Regions from separate parts of the Homo sapiens genome. Here all the other regions are linked to region 1. The links are contacts of gene promoters, found by promoter capture Hi-C in blood cells and fetal thymus (Javierre and others, 2016). All regions are on one chromosome and are shown on one strand. The core of a region is centred on a gene start or on the middle of the fragment in contact, and the rest is flanking DNA. Distances in the headings are between cores, read along the strand shown. Region 1 holds the start of IDE (insulin degrading enzyme). Region 2 overlaps CPEB3 (cytoplasmic polyadenylation element binding protein 3). Region 3 overlaps EXOC6 (exocyst complex component 6). Region 4 overlaps EXOC6 (exocyst complex component 6). Region 5 has its middle 13 kb from the start of EXOC6.

What was found. The method cuts DNA at HindIII sites, captures the fragments that hold promoters and counts their contacts. A CHiCAGO score of 5 or more calls a contact.
Region 2: a contact is called between a fragment that was not itself captured here and the fragment with the promoter of IDE in region 1, in 1 of 17 cell types (megakaryocytes). The highest score is 5.1, in megakaryocytes.
Region 3: a contact is called between a fragment that was not itself captured here and the fragment with the promoter of IDE in region 1, in 2 of 17 cell types (naive B cells and total B cells). The highest score is 6.0, in naive B cells.
Region 4: a contact is called between a fragment that was not itself captured here and the fragment with the promoter of IDE in region 1, in 1 of 17 cell types (naive B cells). The highest score is 7.3, in naive B cells.
Region 5: a contact is called between a fragment that was not itself captured here and the fragment with the promoter of IDE in region 1, in 1 of 17 cell types (neutrophils). The highest score is 5.0, in neutrophils.

The regions. Positions count from the first base shown.
Region 1 is chr10:92,572,830-92,575,370 of GRCh38, forward strand. IDE (insulin degrading enzyme) reads right to left here and starts at 1,264. Exons shown (of 25, transcript NM_004969.4): 1 at 1,093-1,264. The coding sequence starts at 1,190. RefSeq lists a silencer at 664-1,113 and enhancers at 1,614-1,673, 1,684-1,923. The HindIII fragment of the contact is 22,211 bases long and covers 1-2,541 here.
Region 2 is chr10:92,085,410-92,087,950 of GRCh38, forward strand. All of the region lies in intron 8 of CPEB3 (cytoplasmic polyadenylation element binding protein 3), which reads right to left. Among named protein-coding and RNA genes, the nearest start is that of BTAF1, 160 kb to the left of the region's middle. The HindIII fragment of the contact is 641 bases long and covers 944-1,584 here.
Region 3 is chr10:92,883,726-92,886,266 of GRCh38, forward strand. All of the region lies in intron 1 of EXOC6 (exocyst complex component 6), which reads left to right. Among named protein-coding and RNA genes, the nearest start is that of EXOC6, 36 kb to the left of the region's middle. The HindIII fragment of the contact is 1,531 bases long and covers 507-2,037 here.
Region 4 is chr10:92,866,717-92,869,257 of GRCh38, forward strand. The region is part of intron 1 of EXOC6 (exocyst complex component 6); the gene reads left to right. Among named protein-coding and RNA genes, the nearest start is that of EXOC6, 19 kb to the left of the region's middle. The HindIII fragment of the contact is 957 bases long and covers 787-1,743 here.
Region 5 is chr10:92,833,919-92,836,459 of GRCh38, forward strand. It overlaps a transcript of EXOC6 not described here. Among named protein-coding and RNA genes, the nearest start is that of EXOC6, 13 kb to the right of the region's middle. The HindIII fragment of the contact is 2,950 bases long and covers 1-2,541 here.

The DNA of each region.
Region 1 (2,541 bases), core at 14-2,513:
TTCCTTCCAAAGCCAGCCTACCCCCCCATCTCTGGCCCCACACACTACCCATACTACCCATCTTCTGACCCTCATCAACACACCCTTGTAGCTATCTCAATTCCCGTGGCATCCCAATCCGCTCCAATCAAGTCAAAGTTCCTTGGAAGGCAGACACATACTTTACATAGAGGGTCCAGCACAGTGCCCTGCACTTAGTAGGTGCTGGCTATTACTGATTAAAACCAGCAGGGGTTCAAATAACGTTTCTAGGGAGGGCAAGATAATACTGCCTATCTTCTTCCATTCGTAGTAAAAAGTATTCAGCGTTCACTACAAGCCTGAAAACGCCTAGCGTACGCAGATCAACGGTGCAGTGGAGAGGGCACGCCGCCGGATGGCAAAAAACCTGTGTCCTAATCCTGGTTTTGCCACAATCTCGGCAGTTGCTGGGAAATCAAGCCATCTCTCGGAGCTCCGGTTGTCTCCGACGTAAAACAAGGGAGCTGCTGTAGAGGATCCCGAGGTATCTTTTGGCTCCTAAATGTCCCCCGATAGGAAACCCCACACTCGTCTTCCAAGGCGGGAGGCAGGCAAACTTTTTTCCCAGCGCGGGCATTCCACACGGTCCTGGAAACTCAGTGCCCGGAGAAAAGGGCAGGGCTGAGGGCAAGGTGAGAAGCGGTCCCCCCGAAGTCGCCGGATTCCTTTACCCCACGGCTCGAGTCCGCCTCAGGTTCCCGGCCCCCTCACAGGCGGACTCCGGGAGAGTGACGCGGCGCGGCTCCCAGGTGCAGGCCGGGTGACTCTGTCCGCCCCTGCGCCCCCCGCACTAGTGGCACACGCCCCGTGGCCCCGGGTAGCGGCCCCGGCCCCTCACCAGCCCAAGGGACGTCCCCGACTCTGGACCAGGCCTCTGGCTCCCGCCTGGCGAGCCGCTCTTCCGGGCCCTGGGGCGGCCTCAGCGCGGCAGTACGGGCCCCAGGCCGGCGGGACGGGCGGCGTGAGGGGCAGCGGTGGCGGCTTTAAGTGCTGAATCACCACTTTGCAACCCGAGCGCCAAACCGCTGTGACCCACGGGGCCCGAGGGCCCGGGCGCTCCATTCCGCTTACCCACACAGGCGCTCCGGAGGCGGCAGGCGGGCGCCGAGGACTGAGCGGAAGGTGCTGGGCAGTGCGGGGTGCAGAAGCCACGCTAGCCGGTACCGCATTAGCCAGCGCAGTCGCCGGGATCACCGCAAACGCTTCCTGCTTGCGCTTCGAGCCGGCCCTGCGCACTGCGCATGCTCTAGCCGCGGCGCCGCGCGGTCTCCCGGGAGCTGCGGAGAGGTAGCTGCTCCGGGTTTTGCCTGGAGCCGGATGGGGCCAGGACGCAGGCGAGGACGGTGAAGACCGCGGACAGCCGAGGCCTGAGCAGGCGGACTGGAGGGACAGGGGTTTGGCCGGGGCGCTTTAGGAGCCAGCACCCAGACTTTCCCAGGCGGGGAGGGTCCCAGCTAGATCCCACCGGCCGCACTTGTGAGGGTGGCGACGTGTGTCTGACTGTGAGGGGGCGAGGGGCCGCTCATAAATCCAGTGAGGGCACACGGGGCTATGTTTTCTGAGGCACCCCCACTGACTAGCGTGCCGGACCCTGCAGGTGTTGGAACAAGGTTCGTGGTCGCGGCGGCCTCACGTAAAATGAATCCGCGGCCGGCGCGCGGCCCGCGGGCTCCCTCTAGAGCGCGGTGGGGACGTGGACCGCGAAGGCACAGATGCGCTGGAGACAAGGCTCGAGTGCGGCGTGGGGGAAATTCAGACGCAGGGGTCAGCGATAGAGAGGCCAGGACCCAGGGGGACGTTTCCATCCTTGGGGAAGTTAGCAGCTCTCTTAAGAGGAAGGTGCGGATGGGACGGGCGCCGCAGCAAAACAAGGCTTCAAATCCAGAGTAGAAACTACTACTCTTGTTAGTACTCCGTACTAGGAATACTACTAATGTCAGTCGGCTTCAGTGGTTACTTTTTAAACAAAGAATTTTCTCCCCAGTGGCTTTATGGGGCTTTGCACCCACGAACAACTTAATAGTTGTTATGAATCTAACTTTCCATAATACCTTATGGGAGTCTTTAAGGAAGAATGCTATTAGGGATGGTGACTTGCCAGCTTAAGTACTTTTAGGTTTCTGATTGACAGACGATCAAGACTGCAGCCAAAAACGGTGTCCTTAGTCCAAGTATTGCTTTAAATGGGAATTCAGTAGGAGGGTTCCTTAATCAAGTTGATGCTTTATCGAAGACGTACCCACGATCTTTTTAACAGTGCGGTTTCACCTAAAGGCAAACCTTTGGATGAAAACAGGTAAAAATTATGGCAAGCCTCCTAGTGGTGTTTGCAAGTGCATGGTTTTAAGAACCTTTAAATTACCAGTCCCAATGCAGAGTAGTCAATCACCTTGAAGCAGCTCCTCTGAGAGTGTTAATGCAGCCTTTCTGAATACATTTATGCTCCATTAATGGAATCTATAAATGGGCTGGGGTAGATTCAGACTTGGAGGGCTTGAAACATATACAATTTGGGGGACC
Region 2 (2,541 bases), core at 14-2,513, 490 kb before region 1:
ACACAATGAGTCTAATCCACATGCTGGCTCTTGTGATGAGCGTCACTGTGCCACAGACTGGAGGGGCAAACTAGAATACTGCAGCAATATGGAGCATAGCATCCCCATGGATTCCTTTGGATTGTGATGACTACATCTCTGAATCTGAATATAAGCTTCAATTATGGTTCCTTGGATTTGCTCCTGATTCTTTTTTCTTTTTTCTTTTTCTTTTTTTGAGATGGAATCTCGCTCTATCGCTCAGGCTGGAGTGCAGTGACACGATCTCGGCTCACTGCAACCTCCGCCTCCAGGGTTCAAGCGATTCTCCTGCCTCCGCCTCCCAAGTAGCTGGGATTATAGGAGTGCAGTCACCACGCCCAACTCATTTTTATATTTTTAGTAGAGATGGGGTTTTGCCATATTGGCCAGGCTGGTCTTGAACTCCTGACATCAGGTAATCCACCTGCCTTGGCCTCCCAAAGTGCTGGGATTACAGGCGTGAGCCACCGTGCTTGGCCTGCTCCCAATTCTTTACAAAGATGTGAAAGGGTCTTTAGTTCACCAGAGAGGAAACCCATGATGACTCCTTCTTCATGGGTTCACCTTAGGGCCCTATTTATATCATTTAATTATAATACATTTCAAAGCCAGCTAAGGCAACATGTGAGTCTGAGATACTGGAGAGCCAAACGAGATAGAGTAGAAATGAGGATTCCAGAGGAAAATAACACATTCGTCTCTACAGATTCTAAACTGCGAATCTATAATCCATATTTCTTCTCTTTGGAAATAAGGACAAAACAGATAGGCAAGAGGCATAGGGCACCTTAAGATATCAAAGAGGTCTTGACTTCTGAAAGAAAGGAAGATTAAACTTGAGGAGGACTTTCTAGGTTTACCACAATTGTCAAGTTGGTTCAAGGGCAATTCACACACTTCAAGTGGAAGAAATGTGCTCATAAGCTTCTGCTCTGCATCAGATATGTTGGGAAGTTAAGAATATTTTCAAATAGATGGTATGAACAATGAATTAAATCAGACAGAGTACACTGGTACCAAGTAGACTGTTACTACTGTTACTGAGACAACATCTCAGATCTCAGCTTAATAAAGTATCTTTCTTTCGACCTGAGAAAGACCAGTTACTCTATCTGAACTCTGCTTCATCATCTCGAAAGCGCAGTCTACCACTTACAATCTCACAGGGTCATTGTGAGAATTAAACATCCATGAGAGCTCTGGGCACACTGCTGAGGACAGAGTGGTATTCAAATGTTTAGTTTTGTCCAGGGTTCTTGCCCCTCTCCCACCCTGTGAATCTCTGCTTAACATTTAAGTTGGCCTGGTTTTATGCTCTATAAGTATCAATTCATTGCAGTGTTATTTTGGTTTTATGCTAATATCACACAGCCTGCCACTGATATGGCAAAGTTTGACATCAGCTTTGGATGAGGGTTTGCTTTTGGTGCAGAGGGAGGACACAAACACATACTAACATTAGGAAAACCCTTATCCCTAAAGGTAATACAGTTAATCAAGTCAGTATGCCAAATCTGGAGTTTATCCGGGACAACCCATACTGAACTTAGGACATGGTGAAAAAGCTTCTACTGTTGAAAAACTTGATACAGGATGGTTTCTGCCTGCAACCATATCATAAAACAACAATAAAGGATAGGGTTATAATATACTCCTGTTTCCTAAGTCACAAATCAGGACATGGTTTCTAATACATGTGAACTATCAAATGTTTATATAAAATGTCTGAAATAAATGATCTTAGAAAAATTCAGGATATATGTTCTCTAGATATATGCCACATATCTCTGAATATTTACTTCACAAATTTTTACCTCCCACAGAAAAACCATCCTCACAACAGTCAGGGCAGGTGGGGAAGGCAGAGAAAGAAATTTCAGGATTCACCACAGAATATTGGTAGGGGAAAAAAAGAAAGGAAGGAATTATCACAGCAATTGTTAGGAAAGATAGAACCAAAAGATGAACGAGAAAACAGTAGGTTGTGGGGATTCAGATGAGCACTCTCTCAAGATTGATCTGTTTGCAGGGCCTAAGGAAGTCATGAAGTCAAGAACAGTTTATATGCTTCTAATGAGAAAGACTGAAAGTTTTTCCAGCCTGATCAAGGTTGGGAATGAATGGATCCAAAAGCTTGGTCACTGGGGCAGTCCTCCCATCAGATGCCAAAACCAAGAAATTTGGGATCAGAGGAATACTCATGTTAATCAACTGGGGAAGAGTACAGAGACCACATACCTCACTCTCTACTTTTTCCTGGTGATATCATAACCCCCAAGTCTGGCACTTATTTTCTGTCAGAGTGAAGAGATATGCATTCTGGAGAGGTCCTAATGCCACAGAGATATGCAACAGGGCTATTTCTGTATGGAGATTCACATTACGTGAATGAAGCAGAGTGGCAACGTGTTGTACTTCCAGGTGGCAGCAGGAGGAGAATCAAACTGCCCATTATTACCCTGTACTGACTCTAAAGAATATGCGAGCTTTAGCCACATGGTGGCACGGTGAGTCTACTTA
Region 3 (2,541 bases), core at 22-2,521, 310 kb after region 1:
AGAAATGCAAACTTAAGGCTAATGTATCATTTGAAAAACTGGCAGAAAATAGGTTAGTGTTTGAAAAGGTATAAAATGACATTAAAAAGCATTAAAGGAAGTCAGAAGTAACTGATAGTATTTTGTCAGGGGTAAAAGAGTTAAGTTTTGTTTTCTTTTTGTTCTTTTCTTTTCTTTTCTTTTCTTTTTGAGATGGAGTCTTGCTCTGTTGCCCAGGCTGGAGTGCAGTGGTGCGATCTTGGCTCACTGCAGCCTCTGCCTCCTGGGTTTAAGTGATTCTCTTGCCTCAGCCTCCCGAATAGCTGGGACTACAGGTGTGTGCTACCACAACTGGCTAATTTTTTTGTATTTTTGGTAGAAACAGAGTTTCACCATGTTGGCCAGGCTGGTCTCAAACTCCTGGCCTCAAGTGATTCACCTGCCTTGGCCTCCCAAAGTGCTGGGATTACAGGCTTGAGCCACTGTGCCTGGCCTAAAGTTTTGTTTTCTGATAAAGGTTTGTAGAAAGCTTTGACACCAAAAGGTGTCAGTTGACACAAGCAGTGTCAATGCCCAGGGATTCCTGAACAATATTTCTGCTTCTAGTTTTCCAGTATTTGGAAGTCCATTTTCTTGCTAGTTTTTGTTTTTTCTTAAAAGCAGTTGATTGACATTTAGTAAAATACATGGGAAAGTCAGCCAGTGACTAGCATTTTAATGGCAATTGCTCTAGGTACTTTCTCAAATTATACACTATGCAGATGTAGCCCCTGACCATGCTCTTTTATGGTTATGCAACCAGTATATGTATTCTGTTAGTGAACAAAGCATTCTGGGACAGAGAAAAGCCATTTTTATTTTGTCTAGAAAAGAAACAATACTATTCTAGCAAATATAAGTAATTTCGGGACATTAGAATTAGATACTTTGAGATTATATCAGATTTTCCTCAAAGTGTAGACATTATTTTAGTAAAAAAGAGTAAATACATTTTATTTTCTTCACAGTTGTAATGGATTTATTCTTTACAATGAAGACTGCAGTGAATTAAAAAGATACCCAAAATAGTGTAAGGATATTACATGCTTTTTAACAAAAAATATATAAAAAGTGATGAGTTTTTTTCACAATAATACATCGTGAATGTTGGTTTTTCATCAGAAAGGGAACTTTTCCTTAAAAAAAATACTGTGGAATTTGATTACTAAGTCATTTATTTACAGAATATAGCATCTTTCCAAAAAATTCAAGTGGCCGTAGTTTCTCAGTTAAGACATTTGATTTGATGATAAAAGCATTAATTTCTAGTGAACCAATTTTAACATTTTAATGTCTTATCTTTCTTTTTGTATTTATTTTACTACCACTAGGTGGAGCCCTAAACACACAATTCAAGAAAGTATCTCTGCAAGATACTTTGTTTAAATTCCCTAAAGCCAATTTATAATCAGTTACAGCGAGTTAACTCATATTTAAACTTTGAAAACTTTGGTTTTCAAGGGTTGATATAATGAAGATAGAAAATGTGTTTGATACTTAAAATTTTTTTAGCTATATTTTTGAGACACAAAGTATTTTTATACATTCCGAGTTGCTAAAATTAAAATATGTAAGTAAAATCTTTAGTGTGGCATAAGCCATATTTGTTCTCTGTTCACATGAAGGTTAAAGTCAGCTCTTTTTTTTTTTTTTGAGATGGGAGTCTTTCCCTGTTGCCCAGGCTGGAGTGCAGTGGCGCAATCTTGGCTCACTGCAACCTCTGCTTTCCGGGTTCAAGTGATTCTCCTGCCTCAGCCTCCCAAGTAGCTGGGATACAGGTGTGCATCACCACGCCTGGCTAATTTTTGTATTTTTAGTAGAGACAGCGTTTCACCATATTGGCCAGGCTGGTCTGGAACTCCTGACCTTGTGATCCACCCACCTAAGCCTCCCAAAGTGCTGGGATTACAGGCGTGAGCCACTGTGCCCAGCCATCTCTTCTTTTAAAAATGATTTTGCATCTGTACTTCTGTCTGAGTTGCATTAAATTTTGCCAGAATTAGACATTTTATTGTGTTAAGCTTTTGGAAGGGATGACTGAGCTAACCCCCCCCTCTTTTTTACTTTTAAACAAATTTTATTTTATTTATTTATTTATTTTACCTTTGTCCTGAACTCTCTTACATTGATGTGTCATTATCTATATATAGAGCACTAAGGTATACTCTTATTGGATGTGGGAGAATGGAAAGTTTACTAATTTTCTAATGTTCGCTCTTGCTGGTTCTAGCATATAAATATGTGTGTGTTTGTTTACAGGAACTTGATTAGACTTAACAATAGAAATTATAAAATTTTGGGAGACTGAAAGAACGAAAAATTATTTTTGTTAAAATTGTTTATTGATTCAAAATTTAGAATGGCAATAAATCTAGCACATTCATATATGAATTAGGTAGATATAACTATAAACCAACTAGGCTCAAAGAGTGAGTACTGCTTAACAGCATTTCCTTTCTGTTCCTACAAATCAGAATTTCAAAGAATAATGATTATCATTTAAAGAAAAAAAGAAAAATAGCT
Region 4 (2,541 bases), core at 15-2,514, 290 kb after region 1:
ATGATTAATCAGAGACAAGAAATAGCTATTTTTAAAAACTGAAATTATCAAGGTTTGCCAAAATTGTATCTTATTTAGGTGACCTTGGGTTTTAAAAATGTTTTTGAGTTAGTTTCCATAAGAATTTTTCTTAAGTCTAACACATTTAACATATTAGAAGTTCAATTTCCTTGTTTTGGGGGAATTTTACAAATATTCTATTTATATAAGTACTTATTTGTATCAATAAGCCAGTCAGAACAGAGTTTCTTTCATTCAAGAGACTTTATAGTTTAAACTATTAATAGAGATAACTTGTTTTACATACTTAATGAAGAGGTAAAAGTCTTTCTGAATTACAGATGCAGAGCTTTGTAACTTTGTTTCTGTAACTTCACTCACAGGTCAAGAGATGTAAGAGTCACAGAGATAGAAAAACTCATTGGTCCAGATGTCAAAGACCTGTTCTTGGTGGACATGAAATTCTTAACTGGATTTGAGCTCAGAATAAACAGATATGTTAAAAAGACTAACAAACCAAAGTCTCTTTTATCTTTTACCCAAGTGATCTCTATCATCCGTCTATAAGGATCACCAAGTAAATGATCATAAAATCGAATTCTCAATCATTGCTGCCATTTAGGGGTGATAACTTACTGGCCATGCAGTAACTAGAAACCACACCAGAACATATAATTTGTAGAGAGGATGGGGGAAGCGGGGATGACCCAGAGAAACAGGCAGCAAAGTTAAGTATATATTGCTGCTTGGGTTTTACTTCTGGGAGCCAAGAAAAGATAATACCCAAGCTTGAGTAGCCCATGAGGTGCAATTATCTGATAAAGCAGTTTTCTTGGCTCTGTCAGGTGAATGCACTGGGCATTTTGGTAAAACTTCCAAAACTATTAAAAGATAATTTTCAAAAAGGTAAAATCATGACCCTCACACAAATGTAAAATGAATATGTGCCAAAGATTGTATTTAACTTATTAAGAGGGAATCAGTATGATGTTACAACTGTTTCAAAGGCAATGGCAAAAAACAATATAGGATTTGGGAATGCTGAGATGGATATATAAATGGATACACAACTGGTCAGTATCCACAGGGCAGTAATCAATTGTATTCCACTGACAAAAATATATCTGCATTTTTTTGGACAAGAGTCATTTGCATTAGTATCAGCTTTCTACAATTTATAAAGTTGTAAAATAGCCAAAAGACAGTGAAAGGCACAGATAACCCCAAAATATGCTAGATAGGACATTCAGTAATCTTTTTTGTCCATTTCAGTTTTTTAAAATTGCCATTAGAAACATTTTTTTCATTTGTCTTTTTACTGTAGTTATACTTTTATTTTTTGCTGTGCAAAAGTTTTTTATTTTATGAAATAAAATTTATCAGTCTTTCCCTTTTTAGCTTGTGAATTTTGAGTCATAGGAAAGTTTTCCAGATTCCGGAGTTATAGGGGAGTCCACCCATGTTTTCTTTTGGTACTTGTATGGTGTTTTTTAATGTTGCATCTGATTCTGTTTGCATTTTCCTGGGGTGTGGCATGAGGAGTGGCTCTTTATCTTTTTTCACGTGGCAACCCAGCTATCCTAGTACCTCTTATTAAAATGTAGGTCTTTTTCATGTTGATTTGAGATGGTGCCATTATCATGTACTGAATTTTTATACGCAGTGATACTGTATGTGGGTTTCTTGGTTCTGTTCATTGTCTATATGTCTATTCATGTGCTATGCAGCACTTTTAATTTTGGAAGCTTCGTTGTTTTAATATCTGGTAGGGCTACCTGCATCTCATCGCTTATCTTTTTCAGGGATTTCCTGGTGACTCTTCCTTATTTCTCTAAACAAACAATAAATTTCTCTAGTTCTAGAACACTCAAAGTATTTGATTGGGATTGAGCTATAATTATAAATTAATTAGGGAGAACAGGCATGTTGATGATATTGAGTCTTCCTATCCAAGAACATGTTATGTCTTTCAAGAGAGTTAAACTTTTCCATAAATAAATTTTAGAATTCCTTAAGATTATGTGTAGGTGTTTTTTCTCACTATTTTAATTGGGCCCTCCCTTCCTTCCTCCCTCCCTTCTTTCCTCCCTCCCTCCCTCTTTTTTTTTTTTTTTTTGAGACAGGTTCTTGCTAGAGACCAGGCTGGAGGGCAGTGGCATGATCATGACTCACCTTGTAGCCTCAACCTCCTGGGTTCAAGTGATTCTCCCACCTCAGCCTTCCGAGTACCTGGGACTAAAACCTTTAGTATTTTCTCATTAGGAGAGCTCTGGCTTTTGTGCTGAGGGATTTATATTTTATCATGTTAAGGAAACATTCATCAATACCCACTTTATTTAGTGTTTTTAACAAGAAAGTTTGTTGAATTTTGTCAGATGTTTTTCAGCATCTATGAAGATGGTCATACGATTGTTTTGCTCCATCAGTGTGATTGAAATTAGTGCTTGGCTAATTTTTAAAATTTTTTGTAGAGATGAGGTCTTACCCTGTTGCCTAGGCTGGTGTCAAACTCCTGGGCTTAAGTAATCCTCCCTCCTTGGC
Region 5 (2,541 bases), core at 13-2,512, 260 kb after region 1:
CTCTCGGTGGCAGCTAGCCTTCTTAAAACCCTGACATCTTCATTCTCTTTCTTCCTCTCCATCAAAACCTATTCTGCAGAAGGGATCTAGCAAACTCATTCACAGTGAGGCATAAGGAACTGAAAAGGAGTAAGATCTAAATGCCTCCAGAAGCATTTGTATTTGAACAAGAGATAAAAGAACTAATGGCTCTATCTCTAATGGAGGAAATTGACACAGCAAAGTAGAGAAGCAAAGGAGATAGACAGGGCACCAAGGAATTAGCCTAGTGACCTCAAAATCACATCCCATAGCACATTTCATTTTTCCTGGGCAAATTACCTCCTTGGGTTTGTGGGCAAGCCCTTGCCCACAAATACAAATGCTTCTGGAAGCATAGTTGCGGTAATAACTAGGAATGTAGCTTTAGTTATGTATTTAGCATAAATAATATTAATATATATGCCTTGTCAAATCAAATGCATTTAATAAATTTGTATAGTGTAATGACTGTAATTCCTACATATAGTTATTGTCTTTGAGAAACGAGTGAATAAATATAGCTGGCACTAGGCAGGAACTTTCCGAACTGTGTCAAGGTTAATAGTAAGTAAAATGTTATAAGTGGAAACAGGACAGCAACAGCTGTGCAACATTCTTGGAAGCAAAGACTTTTATAGCATGAAGTCAGACAGTGAGCTTGTTTTTGTTGCTCCTTTGGGTGAACAGAGAATCCTTCTAATAATTATAAGGAAAACGGTATTTTTTTTTTTATAAATTACAACAGTTTTTCACTCAATATCTGACATCTGCAGCTGGAAAATTAGGGGCCTGTCGAGCGATGTTGGAAGAAGAAACAGATCAAACCTATGAGAATGTCCTGGCTGAGATTCAGTCTTTCGAACTGCCTGTTGAAGCTACTTTAAGGTAGGGCACCGTTGCATTTTATTGTGTCTTCTTTAGCGGTGATAAGGTGGTCCTTTACCCTGCTTTTTATAATTCTTTATAAGAGTAAAAAATATTCTTGCAAAACAGTTACAGTTCTGTATATACTTAATCTCAAAGTTTTCTTATCCTTAGAGAGATTACAGGACATAATTAATCCATTTTATTTTGCATGTTTCCTAACTCATCACCATAAGATTAAAAACTATGACTTTCAAATGATCAAAAAGGACCTCAATCACCTCCAAATAAATTTATATGAGGTTTCAATTGTTTTCTTTAACATATCACTTAGTGAAAAACATTCAGAACAATTAGACATATCAATGAAGCCAATTTACATTTGGGTGGATATGAGTCATAGGAAAAAATGTAGACCATTTATTTGTATTGTAGCTGCTTTCTTGAGTGTATGGTGACCATTCAGATATGTATTATTTTGTTTCCATATAAGGTTTATTTATTTTTTCTTTTTTAACATTTTCTTGAATACCAATATATAAGGTTTAAAAATAGCTTCTTTGGTAATGTGGGTATTAATTTTCACAGTTCAAGAACAGGATTAAAATGAAAAACTATGTGTCATTGTGTTCAAAGGGCAGCTTTTAAAATTTAATTCTCTATGTCTGCCTGTCTCTGACACCTATCAGTGTGGGAACAAGATATTCATCACTGAATTTGATAGTGACAGTCAATAAATATTTGTTGACTAATATTTGTAGATTAAGTGGAAGGATATGTGTGTGTGTGTATCTGTGTGTGTGTGTGTGTGACCTCTTCATTCTCAGAAAGACCCCAGGGCCAAGAGCTTCTAAATCCACTAAAGTTTAAACCTGAATAAATTTCTCCCAGCTATTTAAATCTTATTTTGCATTAAACATAGTTTGAATATCTTCAAAGGTCTTAGGGTAGTGTTAGGGACATGGTAAACAATTGAGATTTGTTGGTTGATTCTTGGATTATCAATATGTAGGTATAGTTGCAAAATAATTACAACTCCATTATAACTATTACATATACCTTTGTCTTATCTGAGCATCATAAATATTCTGCGAAAAAGAGCTGGTAATTTTCAATAGCAGAAATCAGAGCTTTGTAGCAATGGAAAACTCAACAATTTTTTTCCATATGGGGCATACTTTAAATTGTACCATTGCCTTCTAAAACTTGTGCATCCACCTAGTGGCTAGGTAGGTGGTCAAGTGCCAGGTGCTAGGTAGTTAAGTGCTAGATGCTAGGTGGCTAAGTCTAAGTGGAAACAAGAGAAAGGGTGAAGGGAGCCTAGATGTGTTTTAGGCCATGGCCTCTGCTCCCATTGCTGCTTCAGAGCCCTTGGCCTTCAACTTGTAACCCTTTCTACCTCTCCCCGGTCTCACAACACTGGCCAACATCTACAGACTTTGTCTGTCCTTAGAACTAACCTGTCGGCTAGTCTGTCTCTGGTGTTGGACTTGACTTCCTTTCTTGGTGCTTGGATCTTTTTTACCTTCTCTTCTTAGGAAAAATATCCCTGGTACCAATCTTGTACCTTGTCTTTCTACAGCAAAAAATCATTTAGATTTGGCAGCCACAGCACTCTCTCAGCATCACCCTCAAGGGCAGAGCCTGCATAGATAT